Regions from separate parts of the Homo sapiens genome. Here all the other regions are linked to region 1. Evidence: promoter capture Hi-C in 16 types of primary human blood cells and fetal thymus (Javierre and others, 2016). All regions are on one chromosome and are shown on one strand. The core of a region is centred on a gene start or on the middle of the fragment in contact, and the rest is flanking DNA. Distances in the headings are between cores, read along the strand shown.

What was found. Contacts are between HindIII fragments. The CHiCAGO score rates a contact against its expected background, and 5 or more counts as called.
Region 2: a fragment that was not itself captured here is called in contact with the fragment with the promoter of ADAMTS8 in region 1 in 1 of 17 cell types (M0 macrophages); the score reaches 6.0 in M0 macrophages.
Region 3: a contact is called between a fragment that was not itself captured here and the fragment with the promoter of ADAMTS8 in region 1, in 1 of 17 cell types (naive CD8 T cells). The highest score is 5.1, in naive CD8 T cells.
Region 4: a contact is called between a fragment that was not itself captured here and the fragment with the promoter of ADAMTS8 in region 1, in 1 of 17 cell types (M0 macrophages). The highest score is 5.4, in M0 macrophages.

What each region holds. Positions count from the first base shown.
Region 1 is chr11:130,427,349-130,429,874 of GRCh38, reverse strand. ADAMTS8 (ADAM metallopeptidase with thrombospondin type 1 motif 8) reads left to right here and starts at 1,266. Exons shown (of 9, transcript NM_007037.6): 1 at 1,266-2,308. The coding sequence starts at 1,589. The HindIII fragment of the contact is 10,262 bases long and covers 1-2,526 here.
Region 2 is chr11:130,676,051-130,678,576 of GRCh38, reverse strand. The region is part of intron 1 of LINC02873 (long intergenic non-protein coding RNA 2873); the gene reads right to left. Among named protein-coding and RNA genes, the nearest start is that of LINC02873, 4.4 kb to the right of the region's middle. The HindIII fragment of the contact is 2,576 bases long and covers 1-2,526 here.
Region 3 is chr11:130,203,466-130,205,991 of GRCh38, reverse strand. All of the region lies in intron 16 of ST14 (ST14 transmembrane serine protease matriptase), which reads right to left. Among named protein-coding and RNA genes, the nearest start is that of ST14, 45 kb to the right of the region's middle. The HindIII fragment of the contact is 5,888 bases long and covers 1-2,526 here.
Region 4 is chr11:130,650,199-130,652,724 of GRCh38, reverse strand. No RefSeq gene overlaps it. Among named protein-coding and RNA genes, the nearest start is that of MIR8052, 15 kb to the left of the region's middle. The HindIII fragment of the contact is 8,367 bases long and covers 1-2,526 here.

The sequences.
Region 1 (2,526 bases), core at 17-2,516:
AGGTAACAAGCCCTGAGAGTCTCAGATGCATGCTGAACCACCACACTGCAGGAAGGGGTCAGATGGGCTGAAAAGAATCAGCGATGACCTCGACTGTCAACATCCCCAGCATAAGCACAGAGCTGGGTACCTGGGGGCAGGTGAATTGGCAAAGGATTTAAAGGCCCTGATCCCAGCGGTTCCTAATGCATCACCCACATTGACAACTCAGAGAAAGGCACAGTTGGTGGATGAGTCTAGAGTTTGTAGGTAGAGAACAGGGCCCTCCACCCAATCCAGACCTGTGTCATTGAGACTGGGATGGGATGCAGTTTTGTGGTCTTGAGACCATGTCATCCCTCTCTTCCTGAATACTACCCCCTTCCCTAGGGGGCAGTGGTGACATGGGACAGAATAAATTCACCTCATACACATTTGTTCCTGGGGCTGTGGCAACGCAGTGAAAGGGCCTGCCACCTTACTTGAAGTCCCGGGCAACTAGCAGTATCCAGAAGAGAAGACCTTTTTCAGGGACTGGAGGTCTGTTTCCCTCTTGGGGAAATGCTAACTTCCAACCTCAGTGCTGGTAACTTACCACTGTGCTGGCCTCTGCCCCACCTGCCCTCTAACAGGACAGTGAGAGTCCCTCTTAGGGTTAACCAGGTGGGTTGTTTTTTGTTTTGTTTTTGTTTTCCCCATCTTCAGTTTGGAGTGAAAGTTAGGAAGGCTGTGCAGTAGTGATGAGAGGAGGGCATGATTTTAGCATGACCTTTTCCTCCTCTCCCTTTATGCTTTACAATGAAAAGCTCAGGAACCTTCTCCCCACACAGTCGGATCTCCGGAGGCATCTGCAGGGATCCCAACAGTGTCGGGCTCTGCAGTCGGACTCTGCAGGGATCCGAACAGGGTCGCTGAGACCAGTGCACGAGCCTCTTCGGAAGATGCATCCTGGACTCTTGGCCGCAGAGGAGAAAGCGGTTGGGGTCTCCCAGGGACTCTTTCTAAAGGGTCAGTCCAGCATGGTAGGGGTTAACGTGGGTCCACGCGTAGAGGGAAAGGAAAGAAGTTGTAGTTGACACTTCAGGGGGGCGGGTGGCGGACGGGTCTCGCTGCCTGATTGGTTTTGCATTTCATCCCAATTTTTTTTTCTCCACTCTCTCTCCCTCTTTTCAGTTTCTCTCTCTGATCCCAGGGGAGGGGAAACGGGAATAGTGAGAGATCAAAAATAAACCTCTTATGTCAAGCCGGGAAGGAAGTATAAATAAGAAGGGCTCGGCAGCCCACTCGGTGCTTCCCGGGGTGGGGAGGAGGCAGGAGGCGGCTGCGCGGGGCTGGCGCGGGCAGGGGCGGAGGACGGGCGCACGCGGGCCGGGGCCAGCTGCTCGCGCTCGGCTCGGGGGCGGCGGCGCGGGAGGAGCGGGCTGCGCCAGCCAGAGGGGCCGCCGGGGGAGCGCTCCCGCCGCCGGGCCCCGCGGGCCGAGTCGGCCTTGCACCCGATTGATTCCGCTTTTCCTGGAGAGAGCGGCCGGGCCGCGCTCGGGCCGCCAGCACCTGCCCGCGCCTGGCGGGCTTCTTCCCTCTCCTGCGCGCAGCCACCGCCGCAGCCCCCATGCTCCCCGCCCCCGCCGCCCCCCGGTGGCCTCCGCTCCTGCTGCTGCTGCTGCTGCTGCTGCCGCTGGCCCGCGGCGCCCCGGCCCGGCCCGCAGCCGGGGGGCAGGCCTCGGAGCTGGTGGTGCCCACGCGGTTGCCCGGCAGCGCGGGCGAGCTCGCGCTCCACCTGTCCGCCTTCGGCAAGGGCTTCGTGCTGCGCCTGGCGCCCGACGACAGCTTCCTAGCGCCCGAGTTCAAGATCGAGCGCCTCGGGGGCTCCGGCCGGGCGACCGGGGGCGAGCGGGGGCTGCGCGGCTGCTTCTTCTCCGGCACCGTGAATGGGGAGCCCGAGTCGCTGGCGGCGGTCAGCCTGTGCCGCGGGCTGAGCGGCTCCTTCCTGCTGGACGGCGAGGAGTTCACCATCCAGCCGCAGGGCGCGGGGGGCTCCCTGGCTCAGCCGCACCGCCTGCAGCGCTGGGGTCCCGCCGGAGCCCGCCCCCTCCCGCGAGGACCCGAGTGGGAGGTGGAGACGGGAGAGGGTCAGAGGCAGGAGAGAGGAGACCACCAGGAGGACAGCGAGGAGGAGAGCCAAGAAGAGGAGGCAGAAGGCGCTAGCGAGCCGCCACCGCCCCTGGGGGCCACGAGTAGGACCAAGCGGTTTGTGTCTGAGGCGCGCTTCGTGGAGACGCTGCTGGTGGCCGATGCGTCCATGGCTGCCTTCTACGGGGCCGACCTGCAGGTAGGACTGAGAGCCTCCTCCAGCCGCCGTGCCCGGAGGCCCCCCAGACGCCTCCCAGCGTCTCTAAAATCTCCCCTTCCAATCCCTCTGAGAAAAAAAAAAAAAAAAAAAAAAAGCCCTCCCCACTCATCTTCTCCAGCCTTACCCCAAACGAGATTCTCTCCTGTCTGAGAAAGAGCAGTAACTCTTTTCTGAACTTCTGCCACCCTGGATCCCTG
Region 2 (2,526 bases), core at 16-2,515, 250 kb before region 1:
CAGCATTCTTTTGGCACTACCACTGCTCTTTTCCTATTTCTGCAATCCATTCTGCCTACTTGAAAAGACAGCTTTAAAAGACAACTTAGCCCCACAGACAATAGATAATTTACTTTGGAACACTCAGCCTTCTCAGATTTTAGCTTTCAAACACAGTAGACTCAGCTGATAGAAGTAATGAAACCACCACATGCAACCTTCCTTGAAATACTTGTGATTATTGGTTTTTAGCTCTCTACATATATTTGTGTAAATGTACCTATGTATTTTTGAACTATATCTCTTGACCAATTCAGCCAACTGCAGTGATAGGAAAGGAAATGGTTAGGAATGAGGGGTGAACAATAATTACCTGCTCTTTTCTTTGTCTGTGTTTAGAACCAACTGAGACTGGAAGATCCAAATATCAACTTAATTACTGACAAAACTGTTCGAAAACGTAACCTAAATTTGCAGCAATAACAGGCTTCCTAACACCAAGTTCTGAAATTCAACAGACTTAACCACTCAGCCATAGCAGTTCCAGCCCATCAGCAAAAGCAGAACCTACCCTCTAAAATCTCTGCTGCAGAAGCAGAGCAGAATGTTAGTGCCTCAGGTAGATACAAGGAGCATGAAGAGAGGGGAGGGGCTGAGCTGCGCTTGCTCAGTTCCTGATCCCCGATTTACCAATCAGAATGATTGCTTCCCCTTCAAGTACACCTTGATTTACAAATCTTCTGGGAACCAAGTTCTTTTGAAAAGAGACAATCTGAGCAAAGAGAGGGCCTCCCCAGCTGGATGCACAGAGGCTGCCACTGAGGAGAGACAGCAGGCTGCTGCCTAACTTTCCAAGGGAAGAGAGAAAGGAGGTGTCCTGATGCAACAGGGAGAGAAACCACAGCCTGGCACATACCATCATGCCTCACATTCCATTGCTGCCCCTGGTAACGGTTTCTGACAACAAAATGTGGCTGGAATGCATACTCGTGTTAAATTACTGCTCTTGCCTGAGATAAGATAAAAGACATTTCTCTTGTTTGGGCTACTAAACAGAAAGTAGATCATAGGTGGTACTGCATAATGGCTCAGGAGCCAGGTTGCCAGCATTGTTATCCCTACTCTGTGTCCTAAGACGAATTACTTAAGCTCTTGGTGCTTTGGTTTCTTCCTCTGAAATAAAGTGAATGTTGATAGTGCCTACCTCATAGGGTTGTTTTGAGGCTTACATAAATTAATAGATGTAAACTACTTAGAACAGGATCTCTGAGTGCTTCATAATTCTTGGCCATCATTACCTGAGTCTCAGTTATCTTTACTAAAGAGAAGACGAGGAGGGATGAACTATTCAGAAATCGGCTTCTTATACAGAAACATACTCCCTTAAACATATATTGCTCATTTTCCAGTCCCAATATCCTCTGCTTTGGAGAGCCTGGGAGTTGAATGGGGATATATTAGGAATATATTAGGAAAAATTTGTAAGAACACCACTGAGATTTGGCAGTGAGAGGAAAGGCATGTGATTGCAGCATTCCGCTATGTGTACATGGGTCATTCAAATTCCCATTTCCTCTCCTTTCTAAAAGCTGCCATGACACCCATCAACCCAAGTCATGGCTCACCCTGCTTCATATGTGAGGGGAGGGTGGGAAGAGTACAGAGTGGGTGGTTCCTTGAAGTCAAGGGCTTCTCTCCCTACGTGTGAGTCTTGTTACTTCAGAATGGACCATGGGCTTCGCCATGGTTGAGACCAAGGCAGGGTATAACTGCTTCCAGCTCTAAGGGCTTTTGCTGGACTATTAAGAGGAATTGAATCATTGGCAGCTCAAGAGGGGCCAGGCAGGGCTGGGGCTGGGCAGGAGAGAGAAAACCAACCCCACATGAGGGGTCAGGAGCCAAATGGCAGGCCAGAGCCAGTATCTAATGGCTGTGGCTCAGAAGCCAGGGGAGCACAAAGGAGCTAAGCAGGCCACTGGGATGATCCGAGCTGCAGGACAAAGTGGGCTGACAGGGGGTCTCCAATCCCAGCAAGACCACCTTTCAGGCTCTCCAAAGGAGTCCCAGCAGAGAAATAAAGGTAGCATACAGATCAGTCAATAGGTTGTCGGATGAATTCAGAAGCAAGAACTAAGGGTTTGACAGTAGGTTAGGGCAGGACTCTGAGCACCAAAGATTGTCAGGGCTTCCTGGGGGTCCTATATACTGGGGTACTGGTAAGGAAACTGAGACGGAACCCTTATACCCCAGGAGTTGGCCTTCTTTGTGGAGACTGACATTTGGAACATAAAGTAATAATTGTAATTGCTGTTACCATTTATTAGATATCTACTCTGCCAGGAACTGGGCTTACATTCACATTTTTTGTCTCTTTGAATCCTTACAATAACCTCAGAAGCACTGATATTATCCTTCACACACTGGGATGTAAGTTCTATGCCTTGGGCCAAGGGGCTTGGTTTGTTTCATTCCCAGCTATGTACTCAGAACCAAAAATAGCATGTGCCAGTCCAGAAAAGGAACTTAATATTTGCCGCATATTTATCT
Region 3 (2,526 bases), core at 12-2,511, 220 kb after region 1:
GGCATGGTGGCTCACGCCTGTAATCCTAGCACTTTGGGAGCCCCAGGCGAGAGGATCACAAGGTTGGGAGTTTGAGACCAGCCTGGCCAACGTGGTGAAACCCCGTCTCTACTAAAAATACAAAAATTAGCCAGGCGTGGTGGCAGGTGCCTGTAATTCCAGCTACTCAGGAGACTGAGGCAAGAGAATCACCTGAACCTGGGAGGTGGAGGTTGCAGTGAGCTTAGATTGTGCCACTGCACTCCAGACTGGGCGAAAGAGTGCGTCTCAAAAAAAAAAACAAAAAAAAAAACGTCTAAAGAAGAACATGATGGGCATGATTGGAGGACATTTATGACGCGTACGTCAGCTCGCAGCACAAAGCAATGCCGCCATTTCTCAGTGTGGGACAGCATCCGTGTTTTTGGAGACACAGGCCGAGGCACCTGGTGGGAAGCCTCACAATGGCTGCCCCCAGTTGGGAAATGGTTCTGAAAAATACATGCGGGTGCAAACAGAGAGAAAGCAAACGTGATTAACTCAATCACTGAATGTAGATCAAAGGTATAAGAGTGTTCACTGTACAGCCAGGTGCGGTGGCTCACACCTGTAATCCCAGCACTTTGGGAGGCCAAGGCATGGGGGGATCACGAGGTCACGAGTTCGAGACCAGGCAGGCCACCATGGTGAAACCCCATCTCCACTAAAAATACAAAAATTTAGCCGGGCAAGGTGGCGCACACCTGTAGTCCCAGCTACTCCGGAGGCTGAGGCAGGAGAATTGCTTGAAGCCGGGAGGCAGAGGTTGCAGTGAGCTGAGATCACGCTGCTGCACTCCAGCCTGGGGACAGAGTGAGACTCTGTCTCAAAAAAAAAAGTGTTCACTGTACTAGTCCTTTTTTTCATTCATTGTATTTACAACATTTTTGTAGGTTTGAAAAATTTCAAAATAAAACATTGGAAAAATACATATTTAAAATAGAAAATGTGCGTGACAAGAGAAAGGCATGAAGACCCGCTTCATTTTCCCTCACCTCTCAGGAAGGTCAAAAGGTTACTGAACCACCCAGCCAGGGCACCTCCCCGACCCCGGAGCACTAAACCCAGCCTCTGCCTCCACATCACTCGCGTGCCCACCCGAGCCCTGGTCCACTCTCACTGCCCCAGCGTCCATCACCTTCTGGCCTTTCTTTTTTCTTGAGATGGAGTCTTACTCTGTTGCCTAGGCTGGAGTGTAGTGGCATGATCTTGGCTCACCACAACCTCCGCCTCCCAGACTCAAGCGATCCTCCCACCTCAGCCGCCCCCAAGTAGCTGGGAGTGCAGGTGCATGCCACCATGCTCAGCTAATTTTTGTATTTTTAGTAGAAATGGGGTTTCACCATGTTGGTCAGGCTGGTCTCGAACTCCTGACCTCAGGTGATCTGCCTGCTTCGGCTTCCCAAAGTGCTGGGATTATAGGCATGAGCCACCGCGCCAGGCCCCCTTCTGGCCTTTCTTACAGCCACCTCCCCACGGAATCGCACGCCAAGGCCAAAGCTCAGTTTTCCAACCTAGGCTATGCCCAATCTCGCTTCACTGTAATCTGTTGCCACCAGAAAATGACTTCCCAAAAGCTGTTTTTGTGAGATCCTTTGCGTCCCATTCCACAGCCTAAAAGAATTCCCAAGAGTTGCCAGGTGAGGTCTTGTGACCCACCCAGGCCTTCTGCGTTCACTGTTAATCGACCTGACCTTTCTAACAGTTTCCCAGCCTGCTCACATCCAGCCACGTACTCAACCCCCATCAACTCATTCACTCAACAATCTCTGGGCATCTGTGATGCGATCTATGACCCAGCCTTCAGGTTCACAGTGTACATGTGGAGAGATATGAAAACCACCAATTACAGCGTGACAAGAAGGGTCCCACAGAGGACTGGGTAGAAAGCTGTGGGAGAGGATGGGCTGGGAGTCCGGAAACGAAGTGAGTTATGAACCAAGCCTCGACATCACGTAGGCCTGGCCACCTATGGCCTGAAGGGGTGGAGAATGCCGCATGTTTAAAGAGAACAAAGGTGGCCGGGCGTGGTGGCTCACACCTTATAATCCCAGCACTTTGGGAGGCCAAGGCAGGCAGATCACCCGTGGTCAGGAGTTCAAGACCAGCCTGGCTAACATGGTGAAACCCCGTTTCTACTAAAAGTACAAAAAATTAGCCGGGCACGGTGGCGCATGCCTGTAATTCCAGCTACTCGGGAGGGTGAGGCAGGAGAATTGCTTGAACCCGGGAGGCGGAGGTTGCAGTGAGCTGAGATCGCGCCATTGCACTCCAGCCTGGGCAACAAAAGTGAAACTCGGTCTCAAAAAAAAAGAAAAAAGAGCAAAGGCACATTTAGGAAACCCTCACACTGAGCATGGGGAAGGCATGAGGACTGCACTGGAGACTGAGACTGCACGGACGGGCAGGGGCCAGATAACGTGGCCGTGTCGGTCGTGAAGGAGTTCCTGCTTTATACTGCAAGCCGTGGCAGGCGCTGAAGCAAGAGATTGGGGTGATCAGATTTGG
Region 4 (2,526 bases), core at 19-2,518, 220 kb before region 1:
TTGCTGGGTGATTTCAGCAAAAATATCAAACCACGTCTTACTTTCTTTTTTAAAAAAGTACGAAACATGGATAATCTGAGATACGTTGATGCTTTCTTTGGACAATCTAAGACACTGCTTAGGTGCATTAACATCACATAATAATAACAACAATAAACCTACTCAATCAACAGGTCTATTATTGGGAGGGAAGGGACATTTATACCTTTGGCATTGTTTTTACCAGACAGAAAACTTAATTAGACAAGGGTTTTATTCATAAGAAATAAGGCCTATGTTACATTCATAAGGATAAGGGGAATACAAACTTCTCTTAAAAACTAGATGAGCAGGCCGGGGGCGGTGGCTCATGCCTGTAATCCCAGCACTGTGGGAGGCCAAGGCGGGCAGATCACGAGGTCAGGAGATCGAGAGCATCCTGGCTAACACGGTGAAACCTTGTCTCTATTAAAAATTAATCAGGTGTGGTGGCGTGGTGGCGGGCACCTGTAGTCCCAGCTATGCAGGAGGCTGAGGCAGGAGAATCGCGTGAACCTGGGAGGCGGAGCTTGCAGGGAGCAGAGATCACGCCACTGCACTCCAGCCTGGGCGACAGAGGGAGACTCCGTCTCAAAAAAAAAAAAAAAAAAAAAAAACTAGATGAGCAGAGGGCAGAATGAGTATGGGAGAAATTAATCTTTATTCTTATAGACAAATCAACTCTACCCTGGAGTGGAAGTTCTTCATCATTTTCTAGCTCATCTCATCCTCGTTCATGGGGAAATCAGAGTCTATCTTCCTGTCACTCCCACTATCCTCTCCTCCCCAAAACCCAGCAAAAACCGCTGAACCCAGAGCTTAACGGAAAGAAGGAAAAACAGTGAATTCTTGCAAGGTCTGAGGCTCTAGAATGTGCAAGGCCCAACAATGAGCGAGAGAACTAATCCATTATCCCATTATCCTATAGAGGGGCAATGAGTCCCAGCGAAATGCTGAGTGCCACCCCCTCGATCACCAGCCCCCTCCCCAACCCCCCGCCAACACAGGGACTTTGGCACAAAGAGTCTGAAACAAGAAAGTAATGGGAAGTGACAGAAAGATAGGAAACAAAGGCACAGCCATCCAGGTGGGGCACTCTCTGAGCGTTTAGTGGTCGGCCTTCTCCCAAGTAGTGAAATCAACCAAGTAGCTAAATCAACATGGGATGGTGTGTGTGTGTGTGTGTGTGTGCGCACACATGCACCTCTGCAGTTCCTATGCCCAAGGGAGGGTGTTACCCTCCATACCAGTTATTGCTGTATAACAAGCCAGCCCAGTGATTTATCAGCTCACAAATCTATACATAATTAAGTTGGGTTGAGCTGAGCAGTTCTTCTCCTAGTCTCTCCTGAATCATTCATGCAGCTCTAGTCAGCTGGAGGATCAGCTGGGGGCTGGCTGGTCTAAGATGGCATCATCTGCCCTCCTGGCAGTTGGTGCTAGCTGCTGCCTACGCTTTATGCCTCTAGCTGCTCTGTGGGGGAGGAAGGGTCTGCAGCAGCAAGAGAAGGCAAGTCCCAATGCACAAGCACCTGGCAAGCCTCATGTCCCATCACATTTGCTAACATCACGTTCACCAAAACTAGCTCCCTGGCCAAGCCCAGTTTGAAGGAGTGAAGTAAGCCTCCACTTCATGGTGGCAGAAACAGCAAACTTGCCGTGCACAGGACATGCACACGGGGATGGGAGGAATCTGTGGTCATATTTAACAATCTATCACGCCATCCTAATTCTGAGTCCACAGAGGATGAAGTTGAGATTGGAACATGTCATGTATCTGCATGTTGTTAAGCTGTGAAGCATCAGAGGAAGGACTCTGGTCTTTGGAGTGAGTCAGAGAAACTTGGGATCAAAGCCTAGCTTCACTGCTTGCTTACTGTGACACCAAACATACCACTTAATCTGAGTCCATTTCCTCATTGGTAAAATGGTGGTGGTGTTATCTACTGCCCAGAGTGGAGTGCCTGACACAGTACCTGCCACAGAGGTCATCGAGGGTCTCAACTTCCACCCGCAGTTATCTGTGGCTCCGCGGATGAGTATGTTTCATGGTCAGCAACTCTAATGGGGCGAGAGTGCAGGGGCTTGGCTTTTCTGAGCAAGGAGTTTAGTGTCTGATAAATAGCAACACACTCATCTCCTATGTGCAGCTTCTCACATCAAAACCCACATGCCATGTGGAACTGTTTGGGCTCGGAGGGCCTGAATGCCTGAGGGCCCTCTAGACTTCAGTCTCTGAGAGGCCCCAACTCACACCACCCAGGAAGGAGAGAAGTGGGGCAATCGGGCGAGGGGCATTAACCTCTTAAACGCTGACTTTCTCCATTGTCCAGTCTTACAGATTGGGCCGTCAAGAAACTGTGTCCACACAGAAAGGGGTTTGGCAGAGGGAGAGGCCTGATCTTGTCTAGATTCTATTAAGGGGCTTGCACACAGACATTCAGCTTTGGAGCTAACCACAAGAAGGGCACTTGGAGGGCTCATGCCGGGCAACGGTGAATTTGCCAG